Linked DNA regions of Homo sapiens: region 1 is linked to region 2. Evidence: promoter capture Hi-C in 16 types of primary human blood cells and fetal thymus (Javierre and others, 2016). All regions are on one chromosome and are shown on one strand. The core of a region is centred on a gene start or on the middle of the fragment in contact, and the rest is flanking DNA. Distances in the headings are between cores, read along the strand shown. Region 1 overlaps NAF1 (nuclear assembly factor 1 ribonucleoprotein). Region 2 holds the start of KLHL2 (kelch like family member 2).

Evidence for each region. The method cuts DNA at HindIII sites, captures the fragments that hold promoters and counts their contacts. A CHiCAGO score of 5 or more calls a contact.
Region 1: a fragment that was not itself captured here is called in contact with the fragment with the promoter of KLHL2 in region 2 in 4 of 17 cell types (activated CD4 T cells, total CD4 T cells, total B cells and 1 more); the score reaches 12.1 in activated CD4 T cells.

Annotation. Positions count from the first base shown.
Region 1 is chr4:163,153,610-163,157,975 of GRCh38, forward strand. All of the region lies in intron 2 of NAF1 (nuclear assembly factor 1 ribonucleoprotein), which reads right to left. Among named protein-coding and RNA genes, the nearest start is that of NAF1, 11 kb to the right of the region's middle. The HindIII fragment of the contact is 1,475 bases long and covers 1,970-3,444 here.
Region 2 is chr4:165,205,455-165,209,710 of GRCh38, forward strand. KLHL2 (kelch like family member 2) reads left to right here and starts at 2,107. Exons shown (of 15, transcript NM_007246.4): 1 at 2,107-2,448. The coding sequence starts at 2,423. RefSeq lists an enhancer at 1,728-2,228 and a silencer at 1,759-2,408. The HindIII fragment of the contact is 2,287 bases long and covers 1,139-3,425 here.

The DNA.
Region 1 (4,366 bases), core at 1,457-3,956, 2.1 Mb before region 2:
TTGGAGAACTGGTGTGTCAAAACTCTGTATCTAACTAATCTGATGGGGACATGGAGAACCTTTGTATCTAGCTCAGGGATTGTAAACCCACCAATCAGCGCCCTGACAAAACAGGCCACTCGGCTCTACCAATCAGCAGGATGTGGGTGGGGCCAGATAAGAGAATAAAAGCAGGCTGCCCCAGCCAGCATTGGCAACCCGCTCGGGTCCCCTTCCACACCGTGGAAGCTTTGTTCTTTCGCTCTTTGCAATAAATCTTGCTACTGCTCACTCTTTGGGTCCACACTGCTTTTATGAGCCATAACACTCACCGCGAAGATCTGCAGCTTCACTCCTGAAGCCAGCGAGACCACGAGCCCACTGGGAGGAACAAACAACTCCAGACATGCCGCCTTAAGAGCTGTAACACTCACCGCGAAGGTCTGCAGCTTCACTCCTGAGCCAGCAAGACCACGAACCCACCAGAAGGAAGAAACTCCGAACACATCTGAACATCAGAAGGAACAAACTCCAGACGCACCACCTTAAGAGCTGTAACACTCACCGCGAAGGTCTGCGGCTTCATTCTTGAAGTCAGTGAGACCAAGAACCTACCAATTCCGGACACACTAGTACTCTGTAATATAGGAACGTACAGTTTCCTGTGCATTCCTAAAAAAGGCCAGTGATGGCATTAAGTTGCCTCTTGATAGTAACAACTCTACCTATAAAAGTGATGCACATGAAGTCTCGCCCCAAATACTCCACAAAACATAAAAGGTATATAAAAACTAAATAGTATATACAAAATATGTAAGAGGTAAGTGAAACCATCCTTGTATAATTCCAGGTTAAGATCCTGTTATAGAGTCTGCCTTTGAAAGTACAGTTAAATGAAGCAGTATATATTAATTTTGAAAAAGGCACATATGTGGAGGTCTGAATTAAGGGAAAACAGATCTATTTGTTTCTTTTAAATGAGCATGCTAAGAGAGGAGGACAGGCCAGGAATGGTGGCTCATGCCTGTAATCCCAGCACTTTGGGAGGCCAAGGCAGGCGGATCCTGAGGTCAGGAGTCTGAGACCAGCCTGGCCAACATGATGAAATCCCATCTCTACTAAAAATACAAAAATTAGCCAGGCATGGTGGCAGGCACCTGTAATCCCAGCTACTCAGGAGGCTGAGGCAGGAGAATCACTTGAACCTGGGAGATGGAGGTTGCAGTGAGCAGAGATCGCACCATTGCACTCCAGCCTGGGCGACAGAGCAAAAGACTCCATCTCAGAAAACAAAACAAAAACAAAAAAAAAAAAACAGAGCGAGAGAGGAGAACAAAGAGGAAAAATAACTCAAACGCCAACAGGAAGGCACCCAAGAGATGTGCTTTCCATGAAAATTTTTGGCAGGTTCAGAGAGAACTTTAGAAGGTTCAAAGGGGATAGATCTCTGAAAGGTACAAAAAGCGATTTCCTTTGGCAGCCATGTCAGACAAGGTAATATAAGATTTTTGTTTTGATGTATGAATGCCAAATGTCACCATCTCTTTTTCAACTAGCAAATTTAATCTACTGTATCACTACCAAGCCTAGTCATTCTTTATCAAACTATCCTGCTGCTTTGCTTTTTTCTAAACACATTGTTGTCCAATATTTCTGTATTTACTTAATGTCTATTTCTCTAACTACACAATAAATCCAACCATAACTAAGACCTTTTTAGTCCCAATCATAACGAGGACCCAGTCTTGCTCATTGCTATAGCACCCAAAAAGATGGCTAGCACATAGTAGGTATTTAGTATTAATATATATCTATTAGATGAACTAACCTACCTCTTCAGTCCAAGCTTAGCAAAAATCTCAAAAGTCAGTCTTTGTCTGAGCAGAAATCAGATAATGAAAATATAACCCGATATAGAATCCTCAAAGAATGAAAAAGACTTGAACCTAATCTTCTCAAAAATAAAATTTAAAAGCCAGGCTTCCAAGGAAGCTTAACTGCCTAGGATTGATGCATAGGTACCTCTGGGTTGCAGTAGCAAACATTATTACAATTATTAGATTAACACTTGGCTCCCTGAAAACACACCTGCTGCCCCTCCTAAGATAATGAATAAATCTCCTCAGATATAAAATCTCCTTTAAGGAAATAAAAATCAATCACTTTGCTTTTCCACGTTTCAGGGAAGGGTGTATATGTGTGACAGAGAAGAGAAACACAGACACACTCCAATAAAGGGGAAAATACGGCCAGAAAACATACTGTGGGACATTACCACTCTGGCAGTGCACAGAAGATACAAAGAATTAGATGTAAAAGGCATACTAATAAACTAAAAAAATTGAAGGTAGAGGTGATAGGAAAGGCCTGGGATAGAAAGACCTTCTTCATCACACATAAGCAACAACCAAGGGTACTAAAAATAAAAGACAAGGTGATTTAGTGCAGATTAGAAAGATTAAAGTATCTGCCTGGATACCAACAACCCCTGTTAAAAGAATGATGAGTAGATAGGAAAGACTTTTTGTTTTATTTACTCAATATTAGATACAAATTTAAATTTAATTAAAATTAAATAAAATTTAAAATTTGGTCTCAGAAAACATACTGTGGGACATTACCACTCTGGCAGTGCACAGAAGATACAAAGAATTAGATGTAAAAGGCATACTAATAAACTAAAAAAATTGAAGGTAGAGGTGATAGGAAAGGCCTGGGATAGAAAGACCTTCTTCATCACACATAAGCAACAACCAAGGGTACTAAAAATAAAAGACAAGGTGATTTAGTGCAGATTAGAAAGATTAAAGTATCTGCCTGGATACCAACAACCCCTGTTAAAAGAATGATGAGTAGATAGGAAAGACTTTTTGTTTTGTTTACTCAATATTAGATACAAATTTAAATTTAATTAAAATTAAATAAAATTTAAAATTTGGTCTTCAGTCACACTGGCCACATTTCAAGTAAGACAGCACAATATGGACATCCCCAACACTGTAGAAAGCTCTATTACACAGCACTGCTTTACATTCTCACACATCAAAAAAGCCCTCCATTACAAAACATATTCCCAGGCATTAACAATATCAATTTATTTCTGGCCATTAACACAGGTATAATTTTAAGACCACATTTTAACAGCATGCACCATATTACTAATGAAGTCTTAATGCTAACCTGAATACTCTACTTGGAAATGGAGATTTGTGATAAATCTATATTTTAATTTCATTGTTTCCCAAAATTAAAATGCAACTAAAAGCCTGTTCTGGATGTACATTATCTGCCATTAGAAATAACTATTTTATCATACAAATGAAATTTTTGTAAATGTTTACTAACAAAAAATCAAAGAACAGCAAAAAGTTTTTCTGGACTCATTTATTCAATACTTCTACACATAACAAAGAGTAGGAAAGGAAAGGAAGAAAACTATTTCATTCACATCATTAGCAAATGAAAAGCTTGCATGGAAATAAACATCCCCAAACACCACAGCATTTCGCAAATGAACTACTAAAATTCAACATACTAAAGAAGCTCCACCATTTATTTCCCACACACTACACAGTTCCAAGTCAAAAGCTTTATTGAGAGGCAATATAATCCAAGCAAATACAATTTTAAAAAGCTTACATTAGATGATACATTCATCCTTCACTTTGAGAAAATATGCTACATGATTATTCAGAAACCAAATAATGAGAAAGTCCAAACGACCAGATTCCAACGTTGCTATGCAGGTCTCCACAAATACTAAAAACACAGCAGTTTGGAATGTATCTATTACCAGTTCAGATCTGCTCCTCCCCACTAATATGACTTCAGACAAGTCTCTTTCTTTCTGGTTTCATTTTTCTTACCTACGAATAGTAAGGAAACTGAGCACAAGTTCTAAACAGTTACACAAATGGCTAACGACAATTTAAATGTCCAACTGCATGTAATCAAAAAGACAACACATTAATACAGAAATTATATACTAGATCCCAATAAAAAAATTACTGTGCTTCTGTGATAACAGATACTCGTAACGATGGCATTAAAGAAATGCAAGATCCTAACCACACTTCTGGAATATCCATGAAAGAGCAATTATTGTCTGTTTTGTAAGATTATTATATTTTAATTTTCTAACATCTGTATGGTCTACAAGGTTATTCAGTTAAGCAAAATATTCAAAAGAGTACCACATAACATTAAAAATCCATCCTATTAAAAATGAGGTTATAGACATACCAGTCAAAAAATGGGTGCCTAAAACTTTCAATGCAAAAATGGAAGAAGCTAATATGTCAAAAGTGGCCCTCTGAAAAGGTAACATTTATAATTTACAACACTGTTGACTTTTCAAGCATTTGTGAAGGCTTATTGAGCAAAAAAG
Region 2 (4,256 bases), core at 857-3,356:
AACCTGTTCACTTTTCTCAGTCACTCGGACTCTAATCCAAGCCATCCTTACCTTTCATCCCAGCTAGGCTAATCTCTTTGCTTGCTCTCTTGCCTCGCTATGCATGTTGCCCATACAGCAATCAGTCATCTTTTTTTTTAAAAAAAACTTTGTATTATGAACTTTTATTTATTTATGAATTTTGAGACGGAGTCTCGCTCTGTTGCCTGGGCTGGAGTGCAGTGGCCCGATCTCGGCTCACTGCAACCTCCGCCTCCTGGGTTCGAGTGATTCTCCTGCCTCAGCCTCCTCAGTAGCTGGGATTACAGGCACCCACCACCACACCCGGCTATTTTTAGAAGAGACGGGATTTCGCCATGTTGGACAGGCTGGTCTTGAACTCCTGACCTCAGATGATCCGCCCGCCTCGGCCTCCCAAAAAGTGCTGGGATTACAGGCGTGAGCCACCGCGCCCGGCCCATTATTATCTTTTAAAACATACACATAAACACACATAAATGATGACCACCCCTATGCACCCAACACTTAGCCTCAAAAATTAACATTTTGCAAATATTCATCTATTCACTTCTCTGTCCTTTTTTTTTTTTTTTTTGAGACGGAGTTTGTTTCGCTCTTGTTGACCGGGCTGGAGTGCAATGGCACGATCTCGGCTCATCGCAACCTCTGCCTCCCTAGTTCAAGCGATTCTCCTGCCTCAGCCTCCCGAGTAGCTGGAATTACAGGCATGCACCACCATGCCCGGCTAATTTTTTGTATTTTTAGTAGAGACGGGGTTTCTCCATGTTGGTCAGGCGGATCTCGAACTCCCGACCTCAGGTGATCGGCCCGCCTCGGCCTCCCAAAGTGCTGGGATTACAGGCGTGAGCCACGGCGCCCGACCTCTGTCCTTCTTTTTGTGGGATATTTTCAAACAAATCCCAGAAAAGTCATCCTTTTAATGATCAGATCAAGCTACTCACCACTTTCTAATTGCTTCTAATCTCAGTAAAAGCCAAGTCCTTTATCACGGCCTGCAAGGCCTGGGTGATCTGTGATTACTCCTCGCCACACCCATTCCTGCCGCCGTCCTCCTGACCTCACTCTGCTTCATTAGAGGGTCTCCCACCCTCGCGGCCCCAGCAAGCATCATCTGGAAAGCTTGTTAAAGCACACGCTGCTGGGCCCCACCCCCAGAGTTTCTGGTTCAGTAGGGCTAAAGTGGGACTGGAAAATTCGCATCTCTAACAAGTTCGCAGGTGCTACTGCTTCCAGCGGGCATACTTGGAGAACCACCAGCTGCACTGTTCTCCTTCCCGTTCCTCAACAAGGCAGGCAGGATCTTGCTTAGCAGTCTCCACGCTGCTCTTCCCTCTGCCCTAGGCATTCTTTGCATTACTCAAAGCCCCTGTTATTCCATCTCTTTAACTCATGCCTTTTGAGAGGCCTTCTCTGACCACTCTTTCTAAAATCTCTTTCCCTCTCCTCATCCTCATTTATGTTTCTTCATGGTAAGCATCACTTACTGTTTCCGTCACCCCGTCTAGATGGACAGCTCCACAAGCAGAAAGACTTGGTTTTGCTGTCACAGCCGCAGCACTAAAACCTTGCTTAGCAGGTGCTCACTTCACTTGTCCAAGGAATGGCTAGCATACTGAGGAGGGAGAGCCTGCTTCCTGCCTGGGACACTGGACAGGCAAATCACTTCTTCTTGCCTCAGTGCCACCCTTTGTAAGGACACTGGTTGGTTATGCCTACCCTTCCCATCTCCCTGGGTACAGGCACAAATGAAAAGAATAACGTGTACACGCCCGCGAAGCAGAGCAGCAAGTGGATACCGAGCATTATTACGCCGTGCGTTCGGCCGCCCTTTTTCTGCACGGAGAACCCCCTCCGCTCCCATTTTCCAGCGCCCCCGTCCCGGCGATCCAGAGACCCGCTGTGGGCGGCCGCCGCCCGCGTCCCGGCCTGCGGGCCAGCGTCTGGGCACGCCCGCCCCGCACCCGGCTGGCGCCCGCCCGCCCGCCTCCAGAAGCAGAAGCGGCAGCGGCAGCGGCAGCAGCAGCAGCAGGAGGAAGGGGAGGCGCCGAGGGAGGGGTACTCGGCCGCCGCGGGAGGCCGCATCGCAGTCCCGTCACAGCGTCGGCGCCGGCCGGGGCCGAACCCGGAAGTGGCCGAGCCCGCGCGCCCGCCGGTCCCGTCGCCGCCGCCCCGCACTCGGGCGAGCGCGGGAGCCGCGCAGTAGACGGAGCGCGCCCGGCCGAGCGGGCCATGGCCGCGGGGGCCGCCGCCGCAGGTGGTGGCGCGCGGTGAGGAGAGCGCGGCGCCCCCTCCGGGGCGGATGGAACGCGGCTCGGCGGGCGGGCAGTGCCGGCGTCCGCGGCTGGAATGGTGCTGGCTGTGTTGGTCGGTGCCTGCGTTCTGAAGCCCGAGAGGAGCCACAATGGAGACGCCGCCGCTGCCTCCCGCGTGAGTGAGCGGGCGGGCGGGCTGCGCCGCTGCGGATAAGCGCGCCGCTGCGGCGCGTGTCGCCGGCCGCGGGCGCAGCTCTGGGGACAGCCGCCGGGGCCGGCGGGAGGTGGGAGATGCGGGGCGTGACGAGGCGCTGTGCCCGCAGTCCTGAGCGGACGCGGACGGAAACTCAGCCTGGCCAGGCGGTGACTTAAAACGCTGCCCAGGATTTCTGGGGAAGGGTCTTCCCCATCTCGGGCGGATAGAAGATTCGGGGTGGGGCTGTGCATGGGTGACCCTGCAGGTCCTGTGTGTACCTCCCTGAAATGCATGGGCACCTGGTGCCGAGTTTGCCTACCCCTTTATAAGAGATCAGGCTAGGATGCACTGAGTCCGTTGAAAAAAGGAAACTGGAAAGTACCAGTCACCCGCTGTCTAAATGAATTGATCTTAGGTTGCTTGATTCCCCGAATTTCTAACAAAATTAATATCTGAGGAGCTTTTGCATCACTCTAAATGAGCGGCGGCCGTTCAGGGCATGTGACCTCTTTTACCTGGCACTGCAGAACGTTTTATCCAGAAATCAGCATCTTCTGTTTCGTTCGTACCTCGGGCAAATTAGTAGCGTATCGACCTGCCAGGCACAGGTGTCTTTTTTCTTTGGTACCCAAGTACATTCAAGATCACTGGCAACAGAATTACTTTCTAGAAATAATAGCTGAAACATTATGTAGAAGACATTATTGCATTATTCAGAACAAGGGTTTTTTTTTTAAATTTTAGTTTTTAGTTTTAAAAACATCTTGGTAAAAGTGAACTGTAAATACCCAGGAGTTTCGAAAATTTCAATTTTGGTTCCCTCTTCTCTTAGGAAGGAACAAGAGTCCTTTGAATCTGACTTTTCAAATCGCAGACAAACCTCATCCTGAAGAATGGTTTACCTTTTCATGAGAGCTTATTCATGGAGGCTTGTCGTTCTCCGGTCAAATTTGGCAAGCTTCACTCCATGCCGATTGTACCGCACCAGTCTCTTGTGGTTATTTGGCAGAATTCCAGCCAAAATAAGGATACTTGGCTTGGGTTGAATAATTTTTTGATGTTCAGCCCTTTTAGGAGAGCTAATGGGATTCTGGAACGACAGTTTCTAAAAGTGCGTTTCAGAATTTTTAGCTTGAGTGGAACAGGTCGTGGAAATCTAGGGGGTAGATAAGACTCTTGAATTGGCCTTCCTGGGCTGACAGAAGCAGGGGCTTAGTCACCTCTCGATAGCTGTGGCTTTGAGGGCTCTGAGATTTGGTCATGTTCTTCAGCAGGCTGGAGGAAGGCACCTGAACCCCTAGGAAATATGATGGTGGATGGTTCACATCAGCAGCATGAGCACACGGGGGTCTGCCCAGGCTCAGAAGCACTTAAAGCAGGATATGCTAGCTGTATTTAGCCAACATATGGTATATAATATGTAACATGTAGGTATGCTATCTGTAGTAAACCTGCCTTCTACATAAGTTCCTGCAGTTCGTTTTTACTTTTGGAACAGAGGGAGCTAAAGGAAAGAACAAGGGAATACTTAGAATGCAGGTGAAAAGAAGGGTGTGGGAAAGCAGCCTCTGGAGGGAGGGAGGGAATAGAGACACAGATGATTTAAATTGAAATAATAAAAAATAGAATTGATGTATGCATTGAAACATTGATAAACTGACTCTAGGGTAGATCAGCTAATCATAATTTTGATGACCAGCGCCATTTTTGGCATTGAGATTCCATCAATAGTGCTGGAACAATGAGAGGCTGAGATATAATGGAAAACTTGGAATGCCAGCATGGAT